Linked DNA regions of Homo sapiens: region 1 is linked to region 2. Evidence: promoter capture Hi-C in human tissues and cell types (Jung and others, 2019). All regions are on one chromosome and are shown on one strand. The core of a region is centred on a gene start or on the middle of the fragment in contact, and the rest is flanking DNA. Distances in the headings are between cores, read along the strand shown. Region 1 holds the start of IGFLR1 (IGF like family receptor 1). Region 2 holds the start of LOC101927522 (a long non-coding RNA gene).

Region 1 (4,198 bases), core at 298-2,797, 310 kb before region 2:
AGGGTGGGATGGGCACTTGGAATCCCAGACTTTGAATGCGTGGTAGGGGCTGTCAGTGACAATGGCTTCCTCCATCTCTCTACCCTCTATGCAGGGAATGTACCCGAGGTGGCTTCTGCAACTTCATGCATCTGCGGCCCATTTCCCAGAACCTCCAGAGGCAGCTCTATGGGCGGGGACCCAGGCGCAGGTACCTCAGGACCAGCCTGCTATGTCTCCTCATGTCCTAAGGCCCCTATATCCTCAGATGAGCCTAACCCTAAGCCCCAGTAACCACGTTCCCAAGAATCTTTTTTTTTTTTTTTTTTTTTTGAGATGGAGCCTCACTCTGTTGCCCAGGCTGGAGTGCATTGGCACCATCTTGGTTCATGGCAACTTCCGCCTCCCGGGTTCAAGCAATTCTCTGCCTCAGCCTCCCAAATAGCTGGGATTACAGGCACCTGCCACCATGCCCGGCTAATTTTTGTGTTTTTAGTAGAGATGGGGTTTCACCATCTTGGCCAGGCTGGTCTGAACTCCTAACCTCGTGATCCACCTGCCTCACCCTCCCAAAGTGCTGGGATTACAGGCGTGAGCCACCACTCCCGGCTGACTGTTTTTTTTTTTTTTTTTTTTTTTTTTTTTTGAGACGGAGTTTTGCTCTTCTTCCGCAGGCTGGAGTGCAAAGGCGCAGTCTTGGCTCAGTGCAACCTCTGCCTCCCAGGTTCAAGCAATTCTCCTTTCTCAGCCTCCCAAGTAGCTGGGATTATAGGCACCTGCCACCATGCCTGGCTAATTTTTGTATTTTTAGTAGAGATGGGGTTTCACCACGTTGGCCAGCCTGGTCTCGAACTCCGGACCTCAGGTAATCCACCCATCTCGGCCTCCCAAAGTGTGGGGATTACAGGCGTGAACCACTGCGCCCGGTCATTCCCAAGACTCTTATACCCTAAGAGTAGTTCTGAGCTCCATCTGGAGACCAGTACCTAAGTCCCAATCCCCAAACCAGCCTGAACCCCTAATCCACGACCAGCCTGGATTGCCACCCCTGATACTGGCCACTGAGTTCCCCTGATACTGGCCACTGAGGTCGTGTCTTAGAACTCTAGTTATTTCAGCACCCTCCTGCCTCATCCCAGAGCAGAGAGGCAGGCCTGCAGGATCTCTGCACCACTCCTCAGGGTTCTAACAGAACTCTCAACGCTCCTATTCCCAGGTCACCCCCGAGGTTCCATACTGGCCACCATCCCCGAGAGAGGAACCATCGGTGTTCCCCTGATCACTGGCATGGCCGCTTCTGAGGCCCTGGCCCCCTTACCCTTCACCCCCAACAGGGACAGATGTTCCTGGCAGGACCTCTCCTCAAAGCCCCCTTCACTCTCCTGCCCCATCCTTCCCAGGCTCCCGGGCTCCATAATGTAATCTGTTCAGCATGGAGACCTTCTTCTACCGCCCCTGTCTTAATAAAGCTGCGTGTTTCACTTCGGCATCAACTTGCTTTTGCTGTGGTTTGGCATTTCCCTCCACCCACACATGTGACGAAAAGGGGAAACAAGACTGGGTCCTGGCCACAACTTCAGCTGAGGAACTTGGCACGGCCAGCTTGGGACCCAGGACCCTAACGGTACTGGTAGGGTGGGGACACCTTTGTGCTGAAAACCTTAGCACCTCCATCTGAGGCTTATTCAAGGGGGAGAGACCTGGTTGTGGCAGGTGGGAGGAGCCCTAGCCCCAAGGAGATTAGGATTCAAAGGTGAGGTGAGGTGCTGGGAGGTGGTCTCCAGCCAGTATGGGGCTGACTCCTCCGTGCCTGCCGAATTGTGATGGGAGTTAGTAATGCCTTACACTTAAACACTGAGTTTACTGTATGTGAGGTGCTGTTTTCAGCACTTTAGTTTGTTTTTGTTTTTTTTAAGGAGTTTCATTCCTGTTGCCCAGGCTGGAGTGCAATGGCACGATCTCAGCTCACTGCAGCCTCCACTTCCCAGGTTCAAGCAATTCTGCCTCAGCCTCCCAAGTAGCTGGGATTTACAGGCATGCGCTACCACGCCCGGCTAATTTTGTATTTTTAATAGAGACAGGGTTTCACCATGTAGGCCAGGCTGGTTTTGAACTACTGACCTCAGGTGATCCACCCACCTGGGCCTCCCAAAGTGTTGGGATTACAGGCATGAGCCACTGCGCCCGGCGGCCAGTTTTTTTTGTTTTTAGAGATGAGGTCTTGCTGTGTTGCCCAGGCTGGTCTGTAATTCATGGCTCAAGCAATCCTCCTACCTTGGCCTCCCTAGTAGCAGGGACTACAGACGTGAGCCACTGCACTTGGCAAAGTGCTTTGCTGTTTTTTTTTTTTTTTTTTTTTTTTGTAAAGATGGGGTTTCATTTTGTTGTCCAGGCTGATCTCTCGAACTCCTGGGCTCAAGTGATCCTCCTGTCTTGGCCTCCCAAAGTGTTGGGATTACAGGCATGAGCCACCACACCCAGCCCCTGCTTTACTTCTAATGACGGTTCTAATTCTCCACAATAACCCTATGAGACAGGTGCTATCATTGTCTTATTTTAGGGATGGAAAAGGGAGGGTGGGTGGGTGAGGACACGGCAGAGGTGGGATATGCATTCTTGCAATCTAGATCCGCAGCCCTGTTAGTCCCCTAGTGGCCTTGTGGGCTTCTCTGATAACCGGCTCAGTTGGGGGATGAGGGCTCGGGGGTAGATTCCCGGCTTCCGAAGAGGCGTGAGAATTCTGTTCCCCCACATCACCGCGTCCTTTCTTCTGCCCGATTTCCCCGGAAAGTGTAGCAGAGGCGCTGTGTTTGGAAGTCCCGCTATCACGGCCCCCCAGATGGGGCCTGGACGATGCCTCCTGACGGCCTTGTTGCTTCTGGCCCTGGCGCCACCGCCGGAAGCCTCCCAGTACTGCGGCCGCCTTGAATACTGGAACCCAGACAACAAGTGCTGCAGCAGCTGCCTGCAACGCTTCGGGCCGCCCCCCTGCCCGGGTGAGAATCCGAGACCGAGCCTTGCTTGGGCGGAGCTTGCAGGTGATAGGGAGCGGGGAAGGGGCGAGGTCTGTGGGCTACGGGCCAGAGAGGCTTGCTTAGGGGTCTAAGCGGTGGGCCTTATGCAGATCAGACAGGGATGGCAGGCAGAGCCTGTGCAGATAGTGCGGGCTACCGTAGGGCAACAGCGAATGGATATGGCTGGAGAGGCGGGATAGGGGCCGCGTGGAAAGGGTGGGCTTTATGTAGAGAAGCCGGGAGTGGGCGGAGCTTCGTGCGGAGCAGGCTGGAGGGGGGTGAAAAGGCGAGCCCGGAGAAAAGTGACAAGACCGGGGCGCACGCTAATAGGCTGGAAGCGTCCTGGAGGGGCGGGGCACGCTGGGATAGGGCGAAGGGAGAGGGCGTTGCCCGCGCAGGGGCGGGCTAGGCGGCCGCACTGGAGCGCAGCTTTCCCGCTAGACTATGAGTTCCGGGAAAACTGCGGACTCAATGACCACGGCGATTTCGTAACGCCCCCGTTCCGAAAGTGTTCTTCTGGGCAGTGCAACCCCGACGGCGCGGAGCTATGTAGCCCCTGCGGCGGCGGAGCCGTGACCCCTACTCCCGCCGCGGGCGGGGGCAGAACCCCGTGGCGCTGCAGAGAGGTGCAGATGGGACTCCCGGCAGGGCAAGGGCGTGCTGGAGGTGGGGGGCCTAGATGTAGGGAGCCGGCGTAGCCCCACGTAAGGGGTGGGGCCGTGGTTTCAGGAGGTGGCTGGCCTGCAGGGGTCGGGAGGTCCTAGGTTAAGGTAGTTGGGCCTTGCGGGGCCCAACTACCTTATCAGATACCGTATCAGATGGGATGTGGCCCCATTAAAGGATATAAAGTTGGGAGGTTTGGGAGCGGGCAGGAGTGGAGTGTGGCCTCCAGCTTTACTCCAACCCCTTATCCCCAGAGGCCGGTCCCTGCCAAGGGGCACTGCCCCCTCACACCTGGAAACCCAGGCGCCCCTAGCTCCCAGGAGCGCAGCTCACCAGCAAGTTCCATTGCCTGGAGGACCCCTGAGCCTGTCCCTCAGCAGGCCTGGCCGAATTTCCTTCCGCTCGTGGTGCTGGTCCTGCTCCTGACCTTGGCGGTGATAGCGATCCTCCTGTTTATTCTGCTCTGGCATCTCTGCTGGCCCAAGGAGAAAGCCGACCCCTATCCCTATCCTGGCTTGGTCTGCGGAGTCCCCAACACCCAC
Region 2 (5,341 bases), core at 2,237-4,736:
TGAGCCAGGGAGGAGAGGCAGCAGAGTGTCTGGAGGCGGAAACTTGCAGTCAGGTGCTGGCTGATCCTGCAAAAGACACACCAGATGGGGGGCAAAACTAGTTGCTCTGTGTTCCTTTCCCCAGCCCAACCTTGTCTCTGTTTTCCTCCATTACCTGCTTCTGCCACATACATGACTCATCTTCCCCTAAGAGTTGTGGTATCGCTGGAGTCACCAGGGTTTCTGTCTGCTTTGCAGAATCTTAGGAAACTTAAATTAGACGGCAGATTTTCAGGAAGTGCAGGGAGGATATCAGAAACTCCCGGGTGTCACACCCGGGGAGTTGGCAGCACGTTTCAAAATGCTTGGAAATTTTCCAAGAGAGAGAGAAAAGCCCTGGTTTTCTTAATGCAAACCAGAAAGTAAAGTTTCTGTTTATCAGAAGTGGGAAGTGGTTAAAAATAGATTGAGAAACAGTGATGCAGTGGACATAACACTCTAAGACCCGCTCTTGGTAAAGTTTACGTGAACTGAGATCCTCTTCACGTTGAGCCATCTTCCCTGAGCCTTTTCCAATGCCAGAAGAATTCAGATTCCATAGGAAGCAGGGAAGACTGCTCTCAGGAGAAGGTGGGAGGGGAGAATGTAGTCTTAATTTTGGGAATGTCTTGGGGATTCCTTCCCCCACTTTTTTTTTTCCTTGAGCCCTTGCTACTTGATGATATGAAGCCACAGTGAATTAGCACCCAGAAGCCTTCCCTTCTGTCTCTAGAAGTCTTTGCCATTTATGAAGATAAAACCCTTATATCTCATTTGAGGACTGTCAAATATGCCCAAATAACAGAGACTTAAACACATAGAGGTTTATTTTTCTCATGGGACATGAAGGAATTAGGGAACCCATGTCCACGGCTGCTGCTCAGGATCACTCATCCATCCACAGCCTGGGGTCCTCTGGCTATCTGTTTCACTATCCCCAGATCTTGGCTTTCGCTTCATGGTCCTAAGAAGCATCTACATTCTGAGCAGAAAAACAGGGGGCAGGGAGGACAGAGAGCAAAAGACGTATGAGAGATGGATCTATCCCTTTTTCAAGCAGGAAAATGACAACTTTTCTAGATGCAGTGGCTCACGCCTGTAATTCCAGCACTTTGAGAGGCCGAGGCAAGAGGATCGCTTGAGGCCAAGGGTTCGAGACCTGCCTGGGCAACAGAGTGAGACCCCCTATCTCTACAAAAAATAAAAAAAAAATCTAGTTGGGTGTGGTGGTGCACTCTTATAGTTCCAGCTACTTGGGAGGCTGAGGTGGGAGGATCGCTTGAGCCTGGGAATGGGAGGCTGCAGTGAGCTGTGATGGCACCACTGTACTCCAGCCTGGGCCACACAGCGAGACCTTGTCTCTAAAGAAGGAAAAAGGAAAATGATAGCTTTTCTGGAAGCCCTACCCAGCAGATGTGTACTTATTTCCAACTGGCTGACATTGTATCTCATGGCAATTCCTAGCCGCAAGAGAGTTTGGGCAAATGAGTATTAATTGGGCACTTCCCGAACCTAACAAAATTGGGACCCTGTTGGCAAGGAAAAAGGGGAGAGTTCCAAAATTATACAGATCTTGAATAGCAAATATGGGGAGCAAAACCAATTATAAGCCTAAAATATCTATGGTAGCCATAGGAAGATGTGGGATTTTAGAGGGGGCTTTTATCAATTGTGTTATTAACAGGTAACATACATACAAAAAGGTGAGCTCAACTTAGGGATACAGCTGGATGCATGTTAACATATCTGTACATTTGTGTATGACCACCCAGGTTGAGATGCAGGCCATTTTCAGCACCCTAGAGGCCCTTTTATTCCCTCTCAGTCAGCAAACCTTCCACTCCTAAGATAACCACTTTTCCAGCTTCTACCTCTTTTTTTTATCTATTTATTTTATTTATTTATTTATTTATTTATTTTTGTGAGACAGGGTCTCTGTAGAGTGAGTGCTCATATGAGCACTCCCAGGCTGGAGTGCAGTGGTGCGATCTTGGCTCACTACAACCTCTGCCTCCCGGTTTCAAGCAATTCTTCTGCTTCTGCCTCCCGAGTAGCTGGGGTTACAGGCGCATGCCAACACACCCAGCTAATTTTTATATTTTTAGTAGAGATGGGGTTTCGCCATGTTGGACAGGCTGATCTCAAACTCCTGACCTCAAGTGATCTGCCCACCTCCGCCTCCCAAAGTGCTGGGATTACAGGCATGAGCCACCATGCTCGGCCTTGTTTCTATTTTCTTTGACACAAGCACTGTTTATCTTCCAGTGTAAGAACGCAATCAACCATAGCACTGTGGGATAGCAGCCAGGAGGCTGGCTGTATCCTGCTGCAGCAGCCACCACACATGGAGGGCGGAGGGACAGCCACCCTGTTGTGTAGCTCGGAGCAGCTGTGTCCTTCAGTGCAGGTCCAGCCAAGAGCCGTGGGCCACAGATGACGCTGGTGGGGAAGCAGAGGGCAGACTAGGCAGAGGCAAGGCTTTCCTGTGCCCTGAGCTGTCAGAGATGGGCCAGGGCCTTCAGCTTCCTCGATAGGGCAGAAGTGACCACGCTGGCTCCATTCAGCAAAGGACGTGGACGGAGCTGCCGGGCTTGTCTGAGAGGAGGAGAAATGTGGAATTGAGTGAGGCTCTCTAAGAAGGTTCTGCTGGAGTTGAGAAAAATTAGGGTGAGGCACCTCCCCGATTTTATGTCCTTTTTCCTGGGTCCAGCCTCCTGAACAGCTACCATTCGCTTCTGTGAGACACCTGTCGGTGCCTCCTTTTCCAGCCCTTAATGGAACGGTGAGTGAGGTTCCCTGACTGGGGTGGAGTCTGCTTGTGAGTTTCCCCATCCCATGTCTCTCTGACTCCTGCTCCAACTCCTTACTTCGCCAGTTCCTCTCCCAGCCACCTCAGACTTCCCATACCACCCTCCCTGGACAGGAAGCGTTTTTACAGGAGTTTGAAGCTTCAGGAGTGCCCTCCGGCCACATGAAGACAAGGCGCTAACAAACATGGCGTTCTGCAAATTGCACCATCGCCAACTCCTGTCTTACTCTCACAGAGGTCTCTTGGGCTCTTCTGAGAAGGGTGAATGAACTTGGTTGGAGGGAAGAGAGGGGTTTGGTGGCTCTTAGTAAAATTGCTTCACGCAGTGACCTTTGGCAGTTTAGGATAATAACCTGTGCAGAGAGAGGGTCTCCTGTCCTGAAGTCACAGCCCGGATCTCCAGGCTGGCTCTGCTGCCTCTGAATGATTTGTGGGTCACACACGCCAACAGCATCGCCAAGGGCTGACATCAGCCTGCTTGAGCCACGGAAACTGAATGGGCAAGGATGAGTTCCCCAGCACAGAGGGAGGCATCCTCTGTCAAGACCATCTGCGCATGTGCTGTGCAGTCTCCAGTCTGCACTGTGAGGTTAGTACTTCTTCCTCTCTCTAGAAAGTGTAATGGGGGCCAGGCATGATGGCCCACACCTGTAATCCTAGCACTTTGCGAGGCTGAGGTGGGCGGATTGCCTGAGCTCAGGAGTTTGAGACCACCCTGGGCAACATGGTGAAACCCTGTCTGTACTAAAATACAAAAAAATTTAGCTGGGTGTGGTGGCGGGCATGTGTAATCCCAGTGACTCAGGAGGCTGAGGCAGGAGAATCGCTTGAACCCGGGAGGCAAAGGTTGCAGTGAGCCGAGATCATGCCACTGTACTCTAGCCTGGGCAAAAGAGCGAGACTGGCTCAAAAGAAAGCATAACAGAATACTCATAACTGACAGTGACGTTGTAACAGCTTACCTTATATCCTCTCATTTCTTTGTTTACTTAAACTTCCAAAGCCTAGTTTTTTCAGTATTACCAGGAACCATGGACTTACATTTCTTGCCTCTTGGTGTGTTGCCACATCCCAGCAGTGTGTCTCAACGGCTTTTGAGAACTGCTTCGAGAGGGGACCAGATGCGCAGAGACAAGCTTCCAGCCTGGCTAGGGACGGACCCTCTGGGGATGCTCCTCTCTGGCCGGGCAGCAGTAGAAGCACCTGCCTCCATCCACATCCAGACGCCATTCCCTTTTCTTCACCGCTGCTTCCCATCAGATGGTCCCCAGGAGTGGCAACCTCCCACTTGGTCTCGCAGGAGTCCCAGTGCTTCTCAGGTGTGTGTGCCACATCCCTCTTCTCTGAACACACAGTGGTCAGGGTGCCTGCACAGGGAAGGGCACCACAGTCCACCCTGGGAAAGGTCTTCAGTCTTCGGGAAAGAGCCTGTAAGCACCTTGACTGCTCTTCTTCTCTAGGGCAGAGAGCTTTCTTATCCACAGGGGTCCTTAGTCAGAGAGAGGGAGCGCACTCGGTGAGCTCTTTCAGAGGCAGCAGAGCCCTCTGCCTCTCCCCAAATCCCTGCTCCTACAAGTCGAATTAATCTCTCCTAGAAATCCAAGTCCTAACTTCTTCCAGGCGTCTTTTTACATCCACTGTTTGCATAGCCCACCCTTTCTTCTTTGGAGGATCCCCTCAGGTAACTTCCATCTGCTCCTCAGTGTGTCTTACCCCTTCCTTCTGTTCTTTCTTCACCTCCCTCCCTCTCCACCTCCACACTGGACTATATCAAATTCCTGTTCATTTTTTAGCATGGCCCAGTCAAAGCAGGTTAATCTCTCAGTCAGCAGAGGACATTTCACAAAAATTGGGGCCGCTAAATCACAAAAATATTCTCTAAGTCCAGGGCCAGCCCAGAAAAAATGCCCCAAGTCCAGGCAGCCCCCCAGAGTCTGCCGCCGTCTGGAAAATCCGGCTCAGCTCTTGCTCCTGCACATCCTCTCCTTTCCAGTGCTCTGTGTCTGGTCCCTGTCCCACCTCCTCTCCTTTCCCCAGTGTCTTCTGTCTGAATTCTGTGGGCCCAGGACAGCCCCAGCCTTCTCAAAGTCACCTGCATGTCTCTTGGATTAGGCAGCTGAGTGCAAGGTAACAACCAGATCATGCATTTTCATCTCTCCATGGATGGTTGGGGATAGAGCATCACAAGACAGGCATTGTGGCTGGGTGTGTTGGCTCATGCCTATGATCCCAGCACTTGGTGGGAGACCAAGGCAGGTGGATTGCTTGAGCTCAGGAGTTCAAGACCAGCCTGGGTAACATGGTGACACCTGATCTCTACAAAAAAATACAAAAATTAGCCAGATGTGGTAGTGCATGCCTTTAGTTCCAGCTACTCAGGAAGCTGAGGTCAGAGGATCACTTGAGCCCAGGAGATCAAAGCTGCAGTGAGCCTAGATTGTGCCACTGCACTCTAGCCTGTGGGACAGAGTGAGACCCTGATTTTTTTTTTTTTTAAAGGCAGACATGGTTCTT

Evidence for each region. The method cuts DNA at HindIII sites, captures the fragments that hold promoters and counts their contacts. A contact is called where the count stands out against the background at its distance.
Region 1: a contact is called between the fragment with the promoter of IGFLR1 here and a fragment that was not itself captured in region 2, in 1 of the 25 tissues and cell types used here (spleen).

What each region holds. Positions count from the first base shown.
Region 1 is chr19:35,739,801-35,743,998 of GRCh38, reverse strand. It overlaps IGFLR1 (IGF like family receptor 1), which reads left to right and starts at 1,547. Exons shown (of 5, transcript NM_024660.4): 1 at 1,547-1,603; 2 at 2,776-2,975; 3 at 3,435-3,619; 4 at 3,911-4,198. The coding sequence starts at 2,819. It overlaps U2AF1L4 (U2 small nuclear RNA auxiliary factor 1 like 4), which reads left to right. Exons shown (of 6, transcript NM_001040425.3): 5 at 95-190; 6 at 1,196-1,472. The coding sequence ends at 1,280. RefSeq lists silencers at 1-29, 3,332-3,461 and enhancers at 1,365-1,794, 3,142-3,251, 3,599-4,198. The HindIII fragment of the contact is 13,678 bases long and covers 1-4,198 here.
Region 2 is chr19:35,431,664-35,437,004 of GRCh38, reverse strand. LOC101927522 (a long non-coding RNA gene) reads left to right here and starts at 2,352. Exons shown (of 7, transcript NR_187751.1): 1 at 2,352-2,685; 2 at 3,167-3,416; 3 at 3,903-4,146. RefSeq lists a silencer at 84-378 and enhancers at 1-462, 2,912-4,111. The HindIII fragment of the contact is 5,373 bases long and covers 800-5,341 here.